3 separate regions of the Homo sapiens genome follow, and all the other regions are linked to region 2. The links are contacts of gene promoters, found by promoter capture Hi-C in blood cells and fetal thymus (Javierre and others, 2016). All regions are on one chromosome and are shown on one strand. The core of a region is centred on a gene start or on the middle of the fragment in contact, and the rest is flanking DNA. Distances in the headings are between cores, read along the strand shown. Region 1 overlaps RAPGEF6 (Rap guanine nucleotide exchange factor 6). Region 2 holds the start of MEIKIN (meiotic kinetochore factor). Region 3 overlaps RAPGEF6 (Rap guanine nucleotide exchange factor 6).

Region 1 (2,700 bases), core at 54-2,553, 400 kb before region 2:
ATAGAAATGAAAATGTGGGCATACATTGTACTTAGCACCTTAATTTTTAAAAAATAAGGAAAAGGCCGGGCGCTGTGGCTCATGCCTGTAATCCCAGCACTTTGGGATGCCGAGGTGTGCAGATCACAAGGCAGGAGATCGAGACCATCCTGGCTAACATGGTGAAAACCAGTCTCTACTAAAAATACAAAAAATTAGCTGGGCGTGGTGGCGGGCGCCTGTAGTCCCAGCTACTAGGGAGGCTGAGGCAGGAGAAGCGCGTGAACCCAGGAGGCAGAGGTTGCAGTAAGCTGAGATCGTGCCACTGCACTCCAGCCTGGGCAAGAGAGCGACACTCCATCTCAAAAAAAAAAAATAAATAAATAATGAAGAACTGGAAAGAATGTAACTTATCAAATATCAAGAACTGAATAAATTATAGCATATTATTATAATGGAGTACTGTGCAGTCATTAGGAATAATGGGAAAAACATTTAACAACATTCAAAGATGTTTAGTTTATATATTTGTTTTTAAAAGTTAACAAAAATTTACATATTTAAGTTTTCAATAGTTAGCAAAAACCTTACAGATTTATCTGTATGTTGAAAAGCTTTATCCAAGAATTGCAAAATATCATCAAATAGTTATATAACTGTGTAATAGGAACAATCTGTTTCTAATTTTTCAAAAAAAGACACATATTACTTACACAGTAAAGCAAAATATGTCACCTTAATTAGTGATGGGAAATTTACAATACAAAAACAGAAATTGTTAAATAGTGAGAACAGGAAATAAACCTTGTTGTGGCTCTGGATATGATAAATTTTAGGACTATTTCATATTCTTGTATTGAATCAATGCAATTAGGCAAATGTGACAAACATTAGAGCTGCCTTAATTCTAACACTTATTCCAGTACAAACAACTCTCGAAATAATCTTTCTTACTCCTAACACCTAACATGGAATGAATAAATATCTGTTTATGACAACTGAAAAAACTAAACACATCCTTGGGAATTTCACTATATTCAACCATCCTTTTTATTATTATTTTTAACAAATGCAAACAAGAGGAAATGCTCTGTACTAATTGTTTTAATATTCTAGAAATCGTGAGTACTTTGGAAACTGGTAACTATGAAACCTCTCCCCTCAAAAATACACCTGATTTTTTTAGATTACCCTTATTTCTTGATTCAGCTACTTTTCAGTCTAAAAAGAAGCTATTCACAATTAAAGACTTTTGAAGACACAGCTTACTTTTTTTTTTTTTTTTTGGCAACAGAGTTTTGCTCTTGTCGACCAGGCTGGAATGCAGTGGTGTGATACTGGCTCACTACAACCTCTGCCTCCTGGGTTCAAGCAATTCTCCTGCCTCAGTCTCCCAAATAACTGTGACTACAGGCATGCACTACCACACCTGGCTAATTTTTGTATTTTTAGTAGAGATGGGGGTTTCACCATATTGGCCAGGCTGGTCTTGAACTCCTGACCTTGTGATCCGCCCGCCTAGGTCTCCCAAAGTGCTGATATTACAGGCATGACCCACTGCACCCAGCCTAATAACTTTTTTCACTATTTAAACAACAACAAAAAAGCAAAACCAGAACTCCCACTGGTAAGAGCATTCCTAACCAATTCAACCAAACAGAAGCATTTAAAAAGATTATATATTTACCTGCCCCAAATTTTCACATACAGAGCCCAGCATGTTGATATTACCAAAGATACATGTAAATTAAAGATACTAGATATGAAAATTAAGGAAGATTCATGAAGTGTTCCTAAATATACTCACAGAAAGATAGCTGTTAACCTCCACATCATCAGTAATGGTTTGGCGCTCTCCTTTATAGTTAATTTTCCGAAATCTTCTTCGGGATTGTCTGGCAGGAATTTCTCTTTGTAGAATACTATCTTCATTATCTTTGGCATTCTCTACCTGAAACACATGTTCATATTCCTGATGAAATATCAAATTTTTCCATATTATTGACAATCTATGGAGTCTTAACAGACTCATAAGGAAGCTTCATTTACTTCTTACAAGAAACTGCCTCAAGAAAACAGTCTGTATAGCACAACGCTCATGAGTTAAAGATTAGAGGTGATGTTATTATAAAGATCTGGAGACCACAGTTTCCGTCCAGGAAACAGTCTCTCTTGTGCACATAAACATACATCCTCTAAGTAAAGTCACTTACCAGAAATGAAGGCTGTTAACTACACCTACACATTCAATAATTACAACTTGAGTTCCTCTAATTACAAACTGCCTGATTATACACATATTTTACTTAGCAAACAATCCTGGTTATGGTTTTAGTTAATTGTTAAAAAGTAAAACAAGAAAACTTTATGCAATATTCTTTAATTTTCAACTTAATGCATGACAACAGCCACAAGTAAGGCTGGCATCTTCTAAGTAAGAAAATAAAATGGAAAATTAACATTTGTTAGGAGTTTAAAATAGGCCAGCATGCATATATATTAAGTAGTTAGTTCACACAACAGCCCTGTAAGCAGGTATTACTGTCTCTACTTTGTAGACAAAGAAAAACCCAAAGATATTAGTGACATTCCAGTCTCACAACAGTGATACTTATTAAAGGTGAGTTGGCAACCTGGCAACAGAGCAAGACCCCATTTCTACAGGGGGAAAAAAATAAGCCAGGCATGGTGGTGTGCACCTGTAGTACCAGCTACTTAGGA
Region 2 (2,700 bases), core at 117-2,616:
GCTCTGTAACATATTAAACCCTTAGTAATGAATGTTTCCAGTTGTTAATGGAAAATCAAATGGAAAACATGAAAAAAGGAGTTATTAAGTAACATTTTGTATTTGTCATACAGAAAATTCACCAATTATGGACGTTTCTCCAAAAACGTGTCAAGAGAAAGAGAAAAACAAAAATGCATGACTATGAATCTACCCAAGTCAGAAATTCAAGGCCCTGTCTAAAGACACGTAAGTGTTTATAAAAATACTGGTGAGCTATGTAACATCTACAGAACAAAGCCCATTTTATTCTTTCATCCGGAGGTACATCAGGTACTGATAGTCTCTACACTAAGTGTGTCCAAGGACTAAAAGAGAAGCATACATACACGCAACGATGCAATCTTCTCATCCTGGGTGTCTTCACTAGACCTATTTTCTTGCAGGCTTTTCTCTCCTGTAACTCCTAAGCGAGGGCTAACAAAGAGACAACGCAATTAGTTTGCACCATCTGGATTTGGCTCTCCACGTCTCTGTTCAGACTCTTTAGAATCTGAAAGGCTCTTTAGGGACATCTTTAGGAAGAAGTAAGGACCAGAGTGGTGACTTGCACCAAAACCCAAATGCAGTGACACAATCGTATAGCTCACCGACCAATTTATCTCACTTCCTTTTACGTAAATTGGCAAGCCTTCCCCTTTTTAAAAATAAATCTTCCTGAAGTCAAATTTTGGGGTCCATGTTCTGAGAAGAGCAAAATCAGAGTACTGTATTTGTTTTGCTCCTTGACTGTTAGAATAAAAGGCTACTAGCAGAAAATTCGGCTTGAAGTTTTCTGAGGTGGCAAGCTAGGATCGGGCTGTTACTGGAGGCTACATACCTGAACGGCCCAGAGCCGCTACCTCCCTGCCTGCTCCGCTCTGCTTTCTCTGCAATCTTCGACAAGCCGTGCACTTTGCCTTTTCTCTTCGAACCTGAGAGAGGGCGGCACGTTTCAGGGCAAGAAACCTACCCACCGGCTTCGGGGGGGTCCTGGGCCCGAGGCCTAGCACCCCCGCCCGCCCTCGGTCCCGTCCCGGAGGCAGCTCGGCTGAGCTTACGGTGGGCGAGCCTTGAGCCTGTACCTGGCGGGGCCTCGGCCTTCGCTGGAGAGCCTAGGTCTGGCGTCGGGGTGAGATTGAGCCTCTGACCCTCCCGCTTTTTGCGGGTATAGACCCGTAGCGGCCACATTGCTATCCCACCCTACCCCCAGGCCACGGGTGCCTCTGGACTCTCGATGGCCTGCCTTCCTGAGGATCAGGGCTAAGTCACAGGGAGTCAGCGTCCAGGCGAGGCCCGCGGAGCAGCCTCACAGCAACTAATCGAGCGAAAGCAAAAGCCCCAGAACTGGAGCCGCCGGGCCTCGCTCCCGCGCTTTTATCTCTGTGAGGCCGCGCAGAGGCTTCTGGGAAAACGGAGGAGCGCGGCAGCCGCCCAGCCTTCCTATAGGGGCCCAGTGGTTTCTGGCCTTCTGGCGCAGGTTCCTTCAACTCCAGCGAAACGAGAGTTTTTTGGAAAAAACTTTTTCCTCGTCCAGAAAAAGGTTTAATTCAGCCCCTCCTCCTCCGTCTGAGCACTTAGGTTTCGCCTGTGGCTGCATGCTTAATTCAACTGGGCATGCAGGAGTAAAGGCGTTCCCTCCTTTGGGTGGGCCCAACACTTCCTCTGAGCAAGCTCTCCCTATCAGCACTGCATAAGGCCTTAGTAATGGAGTTTTAGGCCACCAGCACAGGCAGTCTTGTGAGGGGTTGGCCTCAGTGCAGGAAGGTCACAAAGAGGACTGAATGCACCTTAAAGTGACAAGGAGCTTCTCCCTGAGGAATCAACTTCAGTCCCCTGGGCCTGCAACTGACTGGGAAGCTATGGTAATTAAGAGGCTAACCAAGCCTCTGAAGATCCCGGGCTCTAGGAGGCTGCTTCTGGACGACAAACAGTCCCTTAGCCTGTGTCCAGGAGCCATCTCTAGACATCTGGGCATCCTTGTGGTTAAGGTAGAAGATTCCATAGGGGCTCTCCTCCTTGTGCCCTGGGCCTCAACTTGTTGCTGCACCAGACCGATCTGTTTCTTCTTCTTCTTCTTCTTTTCTCCTTTCTTCTTTCTTCTTTCTTCCCCTTCCCCTTCCCCTTCTCCTCTTTTTTTTTTTTTTTTTTTTTTAAGACAGGGTCTGGCTTGTCACCCTGGCTGGAGTGGAGTGGTACAATCATAGCTCACTGCAGCCTCAAACTCTGGGCTCAAGTGATCCTCCCACCTCTGTCTCCCGAGTAGCTAAGACTACAGGCACATGCCACCATGCCCAGCTGATTTGTAAATTTTTTTATAGAGACGGGGTCTTGCTATGTTATCCCAGCTGGTCTTGAACTCTTGGCCTCACGTGATCTTCCTGCCTTGGCCTCCTAAATTCTTGGGACTACAGGTGTGAGCCACCTTGCCCAGCCTTGGTTCAACTTTTATGTAACAAAATTGTGAGTTGTTTTTCAGTTGCCATGAACCCTGAGGTCATGTAACCTGAGCATGCCTAGATGAACCAAGCATGCAGCCACAGGGGAAACCAAGTGCTCAGATCAAGGAGGAGGGACTGAATTAAGAAGTAGATATGGCATGGCAGGATCCAACCGGGTTGAGCTCTGGCTTCATCCCATAGCAGGATCCAGTCAGATCATGCCTCCCAGCATCACCTCATT
Region 3 (2,842 bases), core at 265-2,764, 360 kb before region 2:
TACATTGATGAAAAATGAGTAATGGCCTGGGACCAAGGAAGGGAGCAGGGAACTATGAGAGGGAAAGTTTACAAAGTGGCATGAGGAAACTTTTTCTAGTGATAGAGCTTATTATCTTTGTAATACTGGTGGTTTTACATGTGTTTATATATGCCAAAGCTTATCAAACTGTATACTATAAATCGTGCTGTTCAGTGTATGTCAGTTATACTTCAATAAAGTTTTAAAAATAAATAAAAATGCAAGTCAAATTAATGGGATAAAATGGTTAACAGACAGCTTGCATCCTGGATGTAGAAAGATTCTTATAGAATAATAATGAAACTGCCTCTGCAAAGTTATAACCATAAGAAAATTATGACAGTGAAAGAGATCTGATCTAACCAATACCCAGCTTTCCTTTAACCTCTAAACTGCCCTCAATCATTCCTTGGCCCCGGCCACCCTAACTTTAGGAAACATTTATAGTTTAAATGATAACTAAACTGCTTTTGTAAAGCTAATGAAAGAAAGACCACCAGATTACAAGGATGAGGAGCTGAATTCTGCTAAGCTGTAGACATAAATGATTACCAGTCATTATTCCAAAAGTCACAAGATTTGCAACTCCCTCAATTACTCCTGCAAGTAACAGTGCTATTGTAGAATTTGAGATTGGCCTATTGAGATGTCTTTTCAGGTTTTTAGCATTTCTGATGATTCATCAGTGGCCACCAGGACCCACAGACCTCCTGCTAACCAGTCCTGTGGCTTCACCCAGAATCCAGATTCCCTGGCCCACCAAACTATCCTTAAAAAATCCTAACCTCCAAATTTTGGGAGAGATGAATTTGAGTAATAACTCCATCTCCCACAGGGCGTGGCCAGCCTTGTGTCAATTAAACTCTTTATTACAATGCCATGGTCTCAGTGAATTGGTTTTGTCTGTACAGGTGGGCAGGAAGAATCCACTGGACAGTTACAGTAATAACAGGAGTTTAACAACAGGCACACAAAATTTAAGGGATACTTTATTAAAGAAAAAACAGAAAGCAATGGCCAATAAGCATAAGGGCATAAGGAAAAGTGTTCAACATCATTATTCATCAAAAACATGAAAATTAAAACTGGCACACACATATGTGGATATTTGATTTACATAAAAGGTGGCACTAAATGAGTGAGAAAAGGACATCTAGGTATCCCTATGGAAAACGACGCAACATTATACCATACCCAAAACTCAATTCCAGGTAGACTACAGATTTAACTGTGAAAGGAAAACAAGAAAAGTTCTAGAAAATAAGAAAAAAAAAAAACTATACATACATACATACATACATACATACATACATACATACATACATATATATCTCCATGGCCTTGTGAAAGCAAAGTATCTTGAGCCTCCCAAATCACTAAGCTAAAGGGAAAAGTCAAGCTGGAAACTGCTTAGGGCAAAGCTGCCTCCCATTCTATTCAAAGTCACCCCTCTGCTCACTGAGATAAATGCATACCTGATTGCCTCCTTTGGAGGGGCTAATCAGAAACTCAAAAAAAAACAAAAATGCAACCAGCTGGGCACAGTGGCTCACACCTGTAATCCCAGCATTTTGGGAGGCCGAGGTGGATGGATCACCTGAGGTCACGAGTTCGAGACTAGCCTGGCCAAGATGGTGAAACCCCGTCTCTACTAAAAATATAAAAATTAGCTGGGTGTGGTGGCGGGCACCTGTAATCCCAGCTACTGGGGAGGCTGAGGCAGGAGAATAGCTTGAACCCATGAGGTGGAGGGTGCAGTGAGCCAAGATCGCGCCATTGCACCCCAGCCTGGGCGGCAAGAGCGAAACTCCGTCCCCAAAAAACAAACAAAAAAAGCAACCATTTGTCTCTTATCTACCTATGACCTGGAAGCCCCCTCTCTGTTTCAAGTAGTCCTGCCTTTCCAGACTGAACCAATGCTGATCTTACATATGTTGATTGAGGTCTTATGTCTCCCTAAAACGTATAAAACAAAATTGTGCTCTGACCACCTTGAGCACATGTCATGAGGACCTCCTGAGGCTGTGTCACAGGCACACGTCCTCAGCCTTGGCAAAATAAACTTTCTAAATGAACTAAGACCTGTCTCAGATTTTTGGGGTTCACAACCTCAGAAACAGGAAAGACAAATTTTTCTACATTAGAATTAAGAGCTCATGTTCATCCAAAGACGTTACTAACAGAATGAATACGACAATGAATAAGACAGAGTGGGGAAAAGTATTTCCAACAAAAATAACCAAGCAAGGTTTCTTATTCAGAATATATAAAAAATTTCTACATCTCAAAAACAAAAAGACAACTTATTAGGAAAATGAGGAACAGACCTGAGAAGTCACTTTACAAAAAAGGTCATTCTAGGCTGGGTATGGAGGCTCAAGCCTCTAATCCCAGCACTTTGGGAAGCCAAGGCAGGTGGATTACTTGAGGCCAGCAGTGGTGAAACCCTGTCTCTACTAAAAATACAAAATTTAGTTGGGCGTGGTGTCACGCACCTGTGGTCCCATCTACTTGGGAGGCTTAGGCAGGAGAATTGCTTGAACCTGGGAGGTGGAGGTTGCAGTGGGCCAAAATTGTGCCACTGCACTCCAGCCTGGGTGACAAAGTAAGACTCTATCTTAAAAAAAAAAAGTCATTCTAATGAAAATGTATTCATCGGCAGTCATTAAAATGCAAATCAAAACTATAAAATTGAAAAGAATGACTGAAATTAAGCAGCCAAAAACTTTAAAGTAAAAAGACTTGTATTACTAAGTGTTGGTTAGAATGTGGAACAATGGGAACTCTCACACACCACTGGTGGGTGTGTAAATTAGTGCAT

The links. The method cuts DNA at HindIII sites, captures the fragments that hold promoters and counts their contacts. A CHiCAGO score of 5 or more calls a contact.
Region 1: a fragment that was not itself captured here is called in contact with the fragment with the promoter of MEIKIN in region 2 in 1 of 17 cell types (monocytes); the score reaches 5.6 in monocytes.
Region 3: a fragment that was not itself captured here is called in contact with the fragment with the promoter of MEIKIN in region 2 in 4 of 17 cell types (neutrophils, monocytes, non-activated CD4 T cells and 1 more); the score reaches 6.8 in neutrophils.

The regions. Positions count from the first base shown.
Region 1 is chr5:131,546,261-131,548,960 of GRCh38, forward strand. RAPGEF6 (Rap guanine nucleotide exchange factor 6) reads right to left here. Exons shown (of 28, transcript NM_016340.6): 6 at 1,787-1,930. Among named protein-coding and RNA genes, the nearest start is that of RAPGEF6, 88 kb to the right of the region's middle. The HindIII fragment of the contact is 1,425 bases long and covers 592-2,016 here.
Region 2 is chr5:131,944,297-131,946,996 of GRCh38, forward strand. It overlaps MEIKIN (meiotic kinetochore factor), which reads right to left and starts at 1,367. Exons shown (of 13, transcript NM_001303622.2): 1 at 1,104-1,367; 2 at 860-953; 3 at 369-456. The coding sequence starts at 1,209. The HindIII fragment of the contact is 14,593 bases long and covers 1-2,700 here.
Region 3 is chr5:131,583,990-131,586,831 of GRCh38, forward strand. The region is part of intron 4 of RAPGEF6 (Rap guanine nucleotide exchange factor 6); the gene reads right to left. Among named protein-coding and RNA genes, the nearest start is that of RAPGEF6, 50 kb to the right of the region's middle. The HindIII fragment of the contact is 2,714 bases long and covers 158-2,842 here.